Regions from separate parts of the Homo sapiens genome. Here all the other regions are linked to region 3. The links are contacts of gene promoters, found by promoter capture Hi-C in blood cells and fetal thymus (Javierre and others, 2016). All regions are on one chromosome and are shown on one strand. Each heading gives the region's core, a stretch centred on a gene start or on the middle of the fragment in contact. The rest is flanking DNA. Distances are from core to core; before and after follow the strand shown.

What was found. The method cuts DNA at HindIII sites, captures the fragments that hold promoters and counts their contacts. A CHiCAGO score of 5 or more calls a contact.
Region 1: a fragment that was not itself captured here is called in contact with the fragment with the promoter of SDK2 in region 3 in 1 of 17 cell types (fetal thymus); the score reaches 5.1 in fetal thymus.
Region 2: a contact is called between a fragment that was not itself captured here and the fragment with the promoter of SDK2 in region 3, in 6 of 17 cell types (M2 macrophages, M1 macrophages, naive CD4 T cells and 3 more). The highest score is 7.0, in M2 macrophages.
Region 4: a contact is called between a fragment that was not itself captured here and the fragment with the promoter of SDK2 in region 3, in 6 of 17 cell types (naive CD4 T cells, monocytes, naive CD8 T cells and 3 more). The highest score is 7.6, in naive CD4 T cells.

What each region holds. Positions count from the first base shown.
Region 1 is chr17:73,923,682-73,926,570 of GRCh38, forward strand. All of the region lies in intron 2 of LOC107985081 (a long non-coding RNA gene), which reads left to right. LOC105371888 (a long non-coding RNA gene) reads right to left here. Exons shown (of 6, transcript XR_934962.2): 6 at 1,875-2,889. Among named protein-coding and RNA genes, the nearest start is that of LINC00469, 97 kb to the left of the region's middle. The HindIII fragment of the contact is 3,192 bases long and covers 1-2,889 here.
Region 2 is chr17:73,963,323-73,966,314 of GRCh38, forward strand. No RefSeq gene overlaps it. Among named protein-coding and RNA genes, the nearest start is that of LINC00469, 140 kb to the left of the region's middle. The HindIII fragment of the contact is 3,404 bases long and covers 1-2,992 here.
Region 3 is chr17:73,643,007-73,645,956 of GRCh38, forward strand. It overlaps SDK2 (sidekick cell adhesion molecule 2), which reads right to left and starts at 1,439. Exons shown (of 45, transcript NM_001144952.2): 1 at 1,019-1,439. The coding sequence starts at 1,082. It overlaps LOC124904054 (a long non-coding RNA gene), which reads left to right and starts at 2,468. Exons shown (of 2, transcript XR_007065893.1): 1 at 2,468-2,688; 2 at 2,815-2,950. The HindIII fragment of the contact is 5,171 bases long and covers 1-2,950 here.
Region 4 is chr17:73,992,741-73,996,022 of GRCh38, forward strand. No RefSeq gene overlaps it. Among named protein-coding and RNA genes, the nearest start is that of LINC02074, 120 kb to the right of the region's middle. The HindIII fragment of the contact is 2,923 bases long and covers 268-3,190 here.

The sequences.
Region 1 (2,889 bases), core at 260-2,759, 280 kb after region 3:
ATAAACAATATTAGGAACAATATTAAGAATTAAAAAGGGCTTATTACTGCAAAAGCTGCAATTATTAAACAGATGAGACGAGGTTAAGAAAAACTTTATGATAAATTTTAAAACTTAGATAAAAGTGGATAAATTCTAGAAAAATACAATTTATCAAAGAAGCAGTAGAAAACCTGGAGAGTCTAATGACCTTTAAAGAAATTGAATTATTAGATAAAAATCTTCCAGAAAAAAAAAAAAACTAGGTCCAAATGATTTATCAGCAATTTCTACAAAATGTTTTAGGAACTACTTTTCCAGGTCATAGAAAAAGAAGAAACCTGCCCCCATCAGTTTAAAAGATTAGCAAAATCTTAATTCCAAAACTTGACAAGGATGATATGGGCAAGAAAAATCAGTCTAATCTCATGCAAAAACTGCTTAGTAAGGATAGAATTGATCATTTTGCAGTAACAAATTTCAAAATGTCAGTGGTCTTGCACTATGGAGGTCTGGTTCTCTTCCATGTCACAGCCTGTTGCAGGACAGGCAGCTCCGCTCCAGGCAGTAACACAGGAACCCAGGCTGCTTCTCTTTTATGGCTATACCGCCTAGAACATGCGGCTTCCAAAGTTTCCACAAAAGGGGAAGTGCAGGCTGGAAAATCGTGGGATGATTTTAAGGTCCATGCAGAGAAGTGACTACACCATTGTTGAGGATTGACTTGTGTCCTCCAAAATTCAATTATTGAAGTCCTAACCCCGAGTACCTCAGAATGTGACTGAATTTGGAGATAGGGTCTCATGATGTTTTAAATTATTTAATTACCACTTTTAACAGGGTCTCACTATGTTTCCCAGACTGGTGTCAAACTACTGGGCTCAAGCAGTCCTCCCACCTCAGCCTCCTGAAGTGCTGGGATTACAAGCACGAGCCACCCCACCCAGCCCATAAAATATTTTTTATTTGTGACTTTTACATCTCTGTTCATGTGGCAGAAACCGCACAATGTGCTTAGCCCACCACTTCCTTTTCCTGGACATAAAGAAGTGGTAATTAAAATAAGTTCATAGGGGTGGGTGCTAATCCGATATGGCGGGTGTCCTTATAAGAAGAGATTAGGACACAGCTGTTCATGCATAGAGGAAAGACCATATGAAGACACAGCAAGAGGTCGGTCATCTGACAGCCAAGGAGAGGAGCCTCAGAAGAAACCAAATCTGCTGACCCTCTGATCCTGGACTTCCAGCTTCCAGAACTGTGAGAAAATTAACACCTATTGTTTAAGCTATTCTGTCTGTGGTATTTTGTTAGGGAAGCCCTGGCAAACTAATCCAATTATCATTCCCTTAGTAGGAACTCAGTCACATGGTCCCAATCTAACTGCAAAGGAGGCTGGCAGATTTGCTCTTCTTTATGTCCAGGACAAGGAAATGGTGGGCTAAGCACATTGTGTGGTTTCTGCCACATGAACAAATATGTAAAAGTCATGAACAAAAAATCTTTTATGGGCTGGGTGGAGTGGCTCATACCTGTAATCCCAGCACTTCAGGAGGCTAAGGTGGGAGGATTGCTTGAGCCCAGTAGTTCGAGACCAGTCTGGGAAACATAGTGAGACCCTGTTTTACAAAAAATAAAAAAATTAGCCGGGCTTTGTGGCACATGCCTGTAGTCCCAGCTACTCAGGAGGCTGAGGAGGGAGGATTGCTTGGCCCCAGGATGTCAAGGCTGCAGTGAGCAGTGATCACGTCACTGTACTCCAGCCTAGATGACATAGTGAGACCCTGTCTCAAAAAAAAAAAAAAAAAAAAAAAATTCATGAACCCATTAGAAATAAACCCAACAGAAAAATGAGCAAAAACATAAATAGGCATTTGCTAGAAAAGAAAGCAAAATGGCCCTTCACCATATGAAAAGCTGTGGCTCCCGGCTGCTACTCCAAGCGTGGCCTGCTTAGATCACAGTGGTATCCTTTGGGACATGTCTGTAATAAGGAAAATGAAAAGCAAAATCCTACAGAGATACCATCTCATACTTACCAGGTTGGTAAAATGTAAAAGTTTGTCAATACCAAGAGATGATGAAATGTGGGCCAACAGAAACTCTGGTCCTTCACTAGGGTAGAGTGGGAATGGGCATAACCATTTTGGAAAACAGTTTGCCTGTTCATTGTAAGATTTAATGCATGGTTACCTTAGGATCAACAACTCTACTTCTCAGTGTAAACCTAGGTACATAGAGCAGTGCTTATCAAACTCTAGCATGCATACAATTTTGCTAATATGCAAATTCTAATTCAGTAGATCTGGGATAGGACCCTGAAAATCTGCCACTGTTCTGAGGGCTACACTTGGAGTAGCAAACCTTGAGTTTCATAAATCCATATTCACAGCAATATTCATAATAGCTCAAACCCCAAATTTCCACCAGCAGTAGGCTGGGCAAATAAATTGCAGCATATTCATACACTGGAGTATTATTTAGAAGTGAGAATGAATGAACCACAAACACTCACATTAAAAATAGATGAATCCAACAAATATATTCTTGAGCAAAAGAAGCAAGGCACAGAAGAAAATATACAGTATGACTCCATTATATAAAGTTCAAAACTCAGGCAGAGCTAAATAATACCCAGGCACACCTAATTTTAGTGTGCTTCACAAATATTGCATTTAAAAAAAAAAATTAAAGGTTTCTGGCAACCCCGTGTCAAGCGAGTCTATCAGCATCATTTTTCCAACAGCATGTGCCCACTTTGTGTCTTGTTGTTATATTCTGATAATTTTCACAATATTTCAAACCTTTTCATCATTATATCTGTTATGGTGATCTGTGATCAATAATCTTCAAAGTCACCATTGTAATTGTTTTGTGGTGCCACAAACTGTGCCCATAAAAGATGGCAAA
Region 2 (2,992 bases), core at 76-2,575, 320 kb after region 3:
TTATCAATTTCTATTTTATAAAAGTCTGGAGGAGTTTTGATTGGGATTGAATTGAAATATAATTGGGGAGAATTTACATCTTAACAATATTGAGTCATCTAATTCTTGAACATGGTATGTCTCTCCATTTATTACAGAGATAATTATTATAGAAATACAAAAATACATTATGGAAATTATTACAGAACCTGTCATTTGTCTCAATAGTATTTTGTAGTTTTATGTATACAGACCTTGCAGACCTTTTGATAAATTTATTTCTGCTATGAGGCTAGGAGCAGTGGCTCATGCCTGTAATCCCAGCACTTTGGGAGGCTGAGGCAGGCAGATCAGCTGAGGTCAGGAGTTTGAGACCAGCCTGGCCAACATGATGAAACCCCGTCTCTACTAAAAATACAAAAGTTAGCCAGCCATGGTGATGCACACCTGTAGTCTCAGCTACTTGGGAGGCTGAGGTGGGAGGATCACTTGATCCTGGGAGGCAGAGATTCCAGTGAGCTGAGATTATGCCGCTGCACTTCAGCCTGAGCAACAGAGTGAGACTCCAACTAAAAAAAAAAAAAAAAAAAAAAATGTATTTCTGCTATGGACTGAACTGTGTTCCCTAAAACTTCTCATGTTGAAACCTTAACTCTCAATGTGATTGTATTTTGAGATAGGGCTGAGATATAGGAGGTAATTAAGGTTAAATGAGGTCATAAGAGTAGGGTCCTAATCTGATAGGATTGGTGGCTTAAAAGAAGAGGAAGAGAGTTCATTCTCTCTCTCCATGAGCACAAACCTAGACAAGGCCATGTGAGAACACAATGAGAAGATGACCACCTGAAAGCCAGGAGGAAAGCCCTCACCAGAACCCCACCATGCTGGCACCCTGACCTCAGACTTCCACCCTCCAGAACTGTTAGAAAATAAATTTCTGTTGGTTAAGTTGCCCAGTCTGCAGTATTTTGTTATGGTAGCCTGAGCAGATTATTTTGTTTTTATTTTTTGAGAGACAATTTAGCTGGGTGTAGAATTCTGGGTAGTAGGTTCTTTTCTTTTCCTTTCAGCACTTTAAAGTTATTGTTCCCCTATCTTCAACCTCCTTTGTCTCTGATGAGATGTCAGGCACCATTAGTATCTTGTAATTGAATGTGGTGGTGTTTTTCTCTGTTTTCAAGAGTTGTTCCTTTGTCTTCAGATTTTAGCTATTTGATTATGACGGGCCTAGATGTGGTCCACTTTGTATTTATTCTACTTGGGATTCATTGAGCTTTTTGGATCTATAAATTCATCACTAGATTTTGGGGATTTTCAGTCATTATTTCTACAAATATTTTTCTGCCTGATTTTCTGTCCCCTCTCCTTCTAGTACTCCAATTACACATATTTTAGCTTGATATTTTCCACATATTTATGAGGTTCTGTGCATTTCTATTACTTTCTTTCTCTGTATTTTTCCACTGGATACTTTCTATTGACCTACCTTCAAGGTCACTGACTCTTTCTTCTTCCATTTCCAATCTACTACTGAATGATTCAAGGGATTCTTTTATTTCAGTTATATACATTTTAAGTGTAAAACTGTACTGCCCAATAATGTAATCACTGTGTGCCTTTTAAAATTCTAATTAATTTTTGGTTCATTCACAGCAGCTACATTTCAGGTGCTCAAGAGCCACATGAGGCTAGTGACTATTGTGTTAGACAGTGCTGATATAGAACAGTTCCATTGCTGCAAAAGTTCTTTGAACAGCATTACTCTAGAATTTCCATTTGGCTCTCTATGATAATTTCTATTTCTTTACTGTGATTTCTCATTTTGTATGTATTTTCCATATGTATATATTTTAAGTCTTTGAGCATATTTATAATAGCTGTTTTCAATTCCTTATCTACTAATTGCAACATTTGGATCATCCTGGGGTTGATTTCTACTGATGGGATTTTTTTTTTTTGGTAGAGGCAACATTTTCCTATTTATGTGTCTAGTGATTTCTGATTGGATACTAAACATTTTTTTTAAATACACTGTAAAGACTCTGAAGTCTGTTTTGTTTTTCTGTCAATTTATTCAGTCATGCAAGCCAATTGAGTATCTCAATCTCCAAAAATCATCTCCCCCTTGACCAGTAGCAACTAAAATCTCCACCAGTTTCTTCCACTTCCAGTTGCTTTTTTTTTTCCTGATCCTTATCATTATTATTAGACCAATATCATTATCAAATCCACCCAAAAAATTGTCAAGTCTCTTCTCAATATACATATCTTAGATGTGCCAAGAATTTGGGTGAATCTCATATGTATTTTGGGCTCTCCTCCTTTGAGGCACACTTCCTTCAAGTATTTCCTTCTTAACTTTTTTTTTTTTTTTTTTTGACACAGAGTCTTGCTCTGTCACCCAGGCTGGAGTGCAGTGGCATGATCTCAGCTCACTGCAACCTTCTGCGCCTCCTGGGTTCAAGCGATTCTGTGCCTCAGCCTCCCAAGTAGCTGGGATTACAGGCGCCCACCACCATGCCTGGCTAATTTTTGTATTTTTAGTAGTGATGGGGTTTCACCATGTTGGCCAGGCTGGTCTTGAACTCCTGACCTCAGGTGATCCATCCACCTTGGCCTCCTAAAGTGCTGGGATTACAGGAGTAAGCTACTGCACCCGGCCAACTTTCTTTCTTCCTGTCCGGAATGCTGTCCTCTGATACCTCAAGCCAATACAGTTGTAGCTTTCTACCACCTCAATTTATGCACAGATTTGGGAGTTCCAGGCAAAACGCTTCCAACTCACAAATATCATTCATGCGGTCTCACAAGGGCAGACTCACCTCTGGTTTCTGCCTACTTTTGGGTATTCCTCTGTGCTGTTTTGTGTTTTGCTCAGAGTTTATAATTGTCATCTGTGGAAGACTTACTGTGACCAAATTACTACACTACTACCAGAAGGCAGTAGCTCCCACCTTGTGTTTTTATTTTTTATAGTAAACTGAAATAGTCACTCAGTTTGTGTTGCTGAAGA
Region 3 (2,950 bases), core at 189-2,688:
GGTCCAGGCTTCGTCTCCCTCCGCCCCCAGCAGGCGCCGCTCGGACACCGCTGACACCACTGTCTGGATCGGCGAACCCCAAAGTCGAGGAACCGCCGGTGCAGCCGCCCTTCACCTCGGGGACCTGCCCGGGGACCAGGGGGACGTCTGGGCATCCACCCTCAGGAAGCGGGCAGCGCAGATCACACCTCGGATCCTTCGTAGCACTCCCAAACCCAAAGCCACCAGCCCTTCTCCACCGCGAGGCTGCTCCCGGCAGCCACAGGTCACAGCAGCGAGCGGCTGCACAGACTATCGAGCGAACAGCGGAGGCTGGAGGCAGGGGCGGGGATGCTGGGTGTGGGTGGATGGGTAGGAGGGGAGGCCTCAGACCCTCCCTGTGCACCACCCCCCGGTGGGTCCGCGGCTGCACCCGCGACCTTGGCTCCAGGCCCGCGCAGCGAAGCACCCCCAGCCCCAGCGGCTGGCCGAGCAGCCAGGGGCGGGCTCCCGTACGTGGCCAAGCCGGGCAATTGCTCTCCCCGGGCGAGCAACCCGGCATCCAGCGCTCGCCCACCCCACTCCCTCGCCCCGGGGAGGCCATCGCCTGCCCGGCAGGGGCCCTGCCCTTCCCCGCAGACACCGAGCAGGGAACCAGGAGCTCGGTCTGGGAAGCTCAGCGTAGCCGAGCGTGGAGCCCGGCACGGAATGTCGCTCCCCTCCCAAGCCGGCGCAGGGCAGCCACAGCAGACGGGGGGAGGGGAGCGCCCCTCCCACTTCACCTTGGGCTCTTCTCTGCCTCCCCAGGTCGTCCCCACCTTCCCCCATTCGGAAGCCACAAGTCTCGGAGAGACTGCCCCACCCCCAAAAGAGCCCCAAAACTTGGGAGATGGGGTGTCTTGAAACTCCCTGGAGAGGGCTCTGCCACGGCTAAGCCGGGTGTCCAGGAGGTCACCGTGAGGCCGGCCAGCTCCCGCCGCCCCTCCCCCGCCCACTCTCCCAGCCCCCTCCCTGTCCCCACGTGGGGGTCCCTCCTTACCTTGGGCTCTGGCCGCGCGGATCTGATGCAGAGCTAGCAGTGTCCAGATCAAAAGCCCCCACATGGTGACCAGCCTGGAGAGGGGTCCTCGGGGTCTCCCTTCCCTCCGCCCTGTTTTATAATCCTGGTGGGGTCCGATACCCCGTGGCTTAGTCCCAGGAAACAGTCAGTCTACGCGGCTCCGTGCCCCGGGGTGTAATATGCCCGGGAGGGGCAGCGCTTGGCTACCCCAACCCTTCCTCCTCTTCTGTACTAGTCCGAGCCCGGCAGCGCGCCCGGAAGGCGAGGGGCGAGCAGGGAGAAAGAGGCCAGGCCGCCCTCTCGGACTAGGGCGCCTCTCTCCCTTAGCACCCCAACTCCGACTTCTCCCAAACAGGGCGGCCTCTGCGATCCGGCCGGGTCGCCGGCCGAGCTCCGGAATAAATGGACAACTTCAGGAAACTTCCTCCCGTGGCCACGTTGCCCGCCCCCTCCCCGCCCCCTGGTTGGGTTCTCCCGGCCGACGCAGTCACCGCCGTTCCAGGCGCCGGGCCCCCGGGACCCGGCCAGAGCCGAGCGCAGTGGCAGACGCGGGTGCGGGGGTTCTTTTAGGGGCGCCGGTTTCGGGGGACGCGGTGAGCATAGCGGTCCGAATCTCCCTGGAGCTGAAGTTTTCTTCTCTCTAACTTTGCAGGCAGCATCTGGCGGGGCCGAACCACCCCCTCTGGGCTCCACCGCCCTCGCGCCGAATCGGGAGACGCCGGGTCTCCTCCGGGGGCGCTGGGGCCGGGCGCGCCCTCGGCTCCGCGCCCAGCCGGCTAGCAAACTTTGCGGGTCCCGGAGCCGGGCGCGCAGCCCTGAGCGCCCATGTCCGCGCCAGCCGCGGGGCGGCGGGGGAGGGTGCTGGGCTTCGCGACGCGGGCTGTCGCCGGCGCCCGGGCGCAGAGCCTCCTGCCGGCCCGAGGATGGAGACCGGCGGCTCTGCCCTCCGCCGCGCCCCGGCCGGAGCTCTCGGGAAGACGCACGGAGAGCCCGGCGGGCAGCCCCGGCTCCGGGGACGCGGCGCCCCTTCGGACGCCCGGCGATCGCCGACCTCCCGGGCCGGAGGAGCAACGGCCGCCCCAGCGCCTCGGCCGCCGCTGCCGCTCGCCGAGCCCGCCGCCCTCCGCTTCCCGGGCTCGGCGTCCAGAGAGCCGCTCCTGCCTGCGCCGAGCCGGAGCTGCGGGGGCAGCGTGAGCCGGGGACGAGCGCGGCGGAGGCGGAGACGCGGAGAGGGGGGCCGAGCGCTACCCCGTGGCCGCGACTGGAGAGCAGCCTGCGCGCCGGGAGGGGCGGCGGCGGCGGCGGCGGCCCCGAGCCAGGCCCGGGAGCGAGCCCCGCAGAAATACAATCCGACTGCGCGGCCGCGGGCGCCCAGCGGCTCTGGGACCCGCAGGGGGGCAGCAGTGCCAACCTTCTGCCGCGCCGGGAGAGATGCGCGCGAGCCCCTCCGCTCTCTGCCCAGCCTTTCCTTCCAGCCTCGCTCGCGCCCCTGTCTCAAAGGCCTCATAGGACTCCCAGAGTCTCCTATAGTCGGGAGCCCCCAGCCCCCTTCCGGACATGGAGTGATTGGTGGGGAGGCGGCGGTTGGGAAAAGGGGGTCGGTCAACCGATTGATTCCAGTTTCCCCTTCCCAAGTCAGGCTCTCCAAGGTCTGGAAATGCTCAGGGCGGAGGGGGAGACATCGGGAGGCCTGGGACCTGCAGAAGCCTGAGAAAGTGAAGTTGGTGCCAAGGAGCGTGCGTTCTTTGTTTCTTCTTTTTTCCTTCGGAGCCCAGCTTGTAAAGAGTAGAAGAACCGGACATTGGTGGAGGAATTCAAACAAGAGAGCCCGGAGGCGTCCTCTGCTGTGGCCCAGAGCTAGCGCCTACTCCACGAAGCTCAGCTGGGGTTAACAGGCTTCTGTTAAAATTT
Region 4 (3,282 bases), core at 479-2,978, 350 kb after region 3:
AGCCTGCTCGCCCCTCCACGACAGGCCCTTTCACCCTCCACCCTGTTGATTCCTTCATCAGCATTCCCCACCGCACTTTCCAGAGCTTATGCCAAGAGAGCTTTCCTTTGGGAGTTTGGTGAAATGGGGACATGAAGCCTGCCTGGGGAGGGGTGTGTGTGTGTGTGTGTGTGCGCGTGTGTTTGTGTGTGTAGGGTATAGGTGAGCAGGGCTAAGAGACCGATGTAAAAGGAACAGCCCAAGGTCAAGGGCTGGGGGCCAGCAGGAAGCTTCCGTGGCACAGTCATGAATTCTAAATAAATGAAGCCCTCTAAGCATTTTTGTTCTTCTTTTCATCAGTTCTCAACCAGGGGTGACATTGTCCCCCAGACGACATTTGGCAATGTCTGGAGACATTTTTGGTTGTCACAACTGGGGGGTGGATGCTACTGGCATCTGGTGGGTACAGGCCAGGGATGCTGCTCTGGGATGCAGCATCCTACCGTTCACAGGTTGCCCCCTGCCCCCACCACAGAGAATGGGTGGGCCCCAGGTGTCAGGAGTGCTGAGAATGAGGGACCCAGCATTCTCTTCTCTTCTTTGGTCTTTCTTGCCTGCTTGTAACATGCACTTAGACCCTTCCAGATCCACAGGTGCAGATTGTCATGAATCCCAAAGACTAGTATGGGGTGACTCAGTCTACCCCACTGAGGTCAAGAAAAATAAGTGGATGGAACCCGGGAGGGATGAGAACACAGGGTGTGGGTGCAGCTGTGAAAATTTCGTGCTCATGATTTCACACACTCTCTTAATGTTCTTAAGAGCCTTTGGGGAGTAACCTTGGGACCCGCAAACACTTTGCCCCCTTCTCAGGTTCGGCAAGGCAGGGTTTGCCTGTAAAGTAGTAGGACAGTGTCTGGGGAGCAAGCTGCACTTTGACAATTGTGTGAGCTGAAAAGAGGAGGAGACAGAGACATCCTGGGGACAGAGGTGGCAGGGTACCGTCTTTGAAAGTTAAGGAGGTGTTTTCTCTTTGGAGCTCTGTCCACCACCCCAGACTCTTGAGACAAGTCATAGTTACAAAATGGCCACTTAGCATTTGTGGCCATCTCTTGGATGGATGTTGGGTTGACTTGAGGGTGTTCTGAGATGCTGTCCTGGTGGATCCACAGGTATGAAGCCCACCTCTCTGCATGGAGTACCACGGCCACCCATTGTCAATTGTCCAAGGTGGCAGTGTGACCTCAGACTGGACGTTGGAATACAGAGATGAGCCTCTGGCCTTCACCTCTTGGACCTTCCCTGGTTTGGACTCCTGATGGCAGGTTTGGACTCCTGATGGCAGATGCCAAGGTGATGTCACTACCTGGATCATGCTGGGAGGAAGATGGAAGAGGGCCCAAGAGCTTCAGAGAGCAAACCGTCGGCTGCAAGCTGGGTCACCTGGCTCCGGCAGCCATTTTTCTTTCCTTTGGGTTCCCCTGACACTGAGTACTGTTTTGACAAAATGTTCAGCAACCAAGTGTCCATGCATGACCTAGAGGGTTCAGGAGGGACAGCCAGCCTGAAGACTTTACCAATAGACCCAGCATGGAAGGAGGCTCTCAGAGGCTGGAGGGGAAGGAAGCCTGACTTCTCTCTGGACACACCATGCCTCCTCTATTGCCAGAGCATGAAGGGAAATGGTGGATCCTCTCCTAGTAATACTTGAAGTCTTTGTTATTTGGGATCATTTGATTTTTGACTCTTAAAAATAGTCCATAGGCCGGGTGCGGTGGCTCACGCCTGTAATCCCAGAATTTTGGGAGGCCGAGGTGGGTGTATCATGAGGTCAGGAGATCGAGACCATCCTGGCTAACACGGTGAAACCCCGTCTCTACTAAAAATACAGCAAATTAGCTGGGCATAGCAGCAGTCACCTGTAGTCCCAGCTACTCAGGAGGCTGAGGCAGGAGAATGGCATGACCCCAGGAGGCGGAGCTTGCAGTGAGCTGAGATTGTGCCACTGCACTCCAGCCTGGGCGACAGAGCGAGACTCCATCTCAAAAAAAATAATAATAAAAATAAAAAAAAATAAGAGTCCATGAGGACTGAAAATGGTAATGAGGTTACAGTGAAAGTGAGATTCCAGGACAGGCTAAAAAATCAAGAGAAAGAGACTGGAGGAGAAACCTCACCTCCTTTGTGGCTTTTCAGAAATGGCCTTTGGAAGCAGCAGCAACTCCGAGAATGAACTTGCTGGCCCCACCCAGCGATGGAGAGAACATCCCTTTCAGAGCAGAGATGCAGGATGGAATAGGTGAAGAGAGAAATACAGATTCCCTGAATATCCGTGTCCTCCCTCTTTTTTCAAGGACTCCAGTATCTCCTGGAAGCTCCTAGAAAAAGTCTGGCATTCATGTGAACTTAATCAGCAGAGACTCATTTACATAATAAGCATTCTGTGAACACTTACCATATACAAAGCACTGTGTCCCACAGCTAGCATAAGGCCTGGCATACAGTAAGTATTTAATATTTGTTTAGGATTTTTTTCTTTTTTTAGATGGAGTCTCGCTCTGTAGCCCAGACTGGAGTACAGTGGCACGATCTCAGCTCACTACAACCTCTGCCTCCTGGGTTCAAGTGATTCTCCTGCCTCAGCCTCCCTAGTAGCTGGGATTATAGGTATGCGCCACCACGCCTGGCTAATTTTTATATTTTTAGTAGAGACGGGGTTTCGTCATGTTGGCCAGGCTGGTCTCAAACTCCTGACCTCAGGTGATCCGCCCGCCTCAGCCTCCCAAAGTGCTGGGATGAGCCACCGCACCTGGCGTGTTTGGGAGATCTAAGGGTGACTGAGAGACTATCCCTGCAGCCAAGGATTTTATAAGCCAGACGTGCCGGGGAGTAATTCAAGGTGGAATGAAATAAGTACATTTCCTGGTGTTTCTTTGGTCTCAGCTGCTCATCTGGAAGTGAAGCAGAGCTCCCTGGGGACCAGAGAGTATAGAAAATTTCTTTCTTGAGTGGACCCTAAGAATGAATGGGGAGATTTCCCCAGAATAAACCAGCTCACCCTTCCTTTTCCCCTTCCGCGGAGCTGAGTCTAGGGAGCAACAGCAGCGCCATCTTTCTTTTTCGGAGGCAGAAGCTGTGCACTCTTATCAGCAGTGGGACAGACTTGGGCTTTGGACCCAACAGATCTGGAGACCACCCACTAGATGAGGGAAGCTTGGGTACTGAGCCTTGGTTCCCTCTTCTGTAAAGGGAGCTAATTTTGTCTTCCTGCAGGGGGTGGATGTGAGAATTGTGAACGCAAAG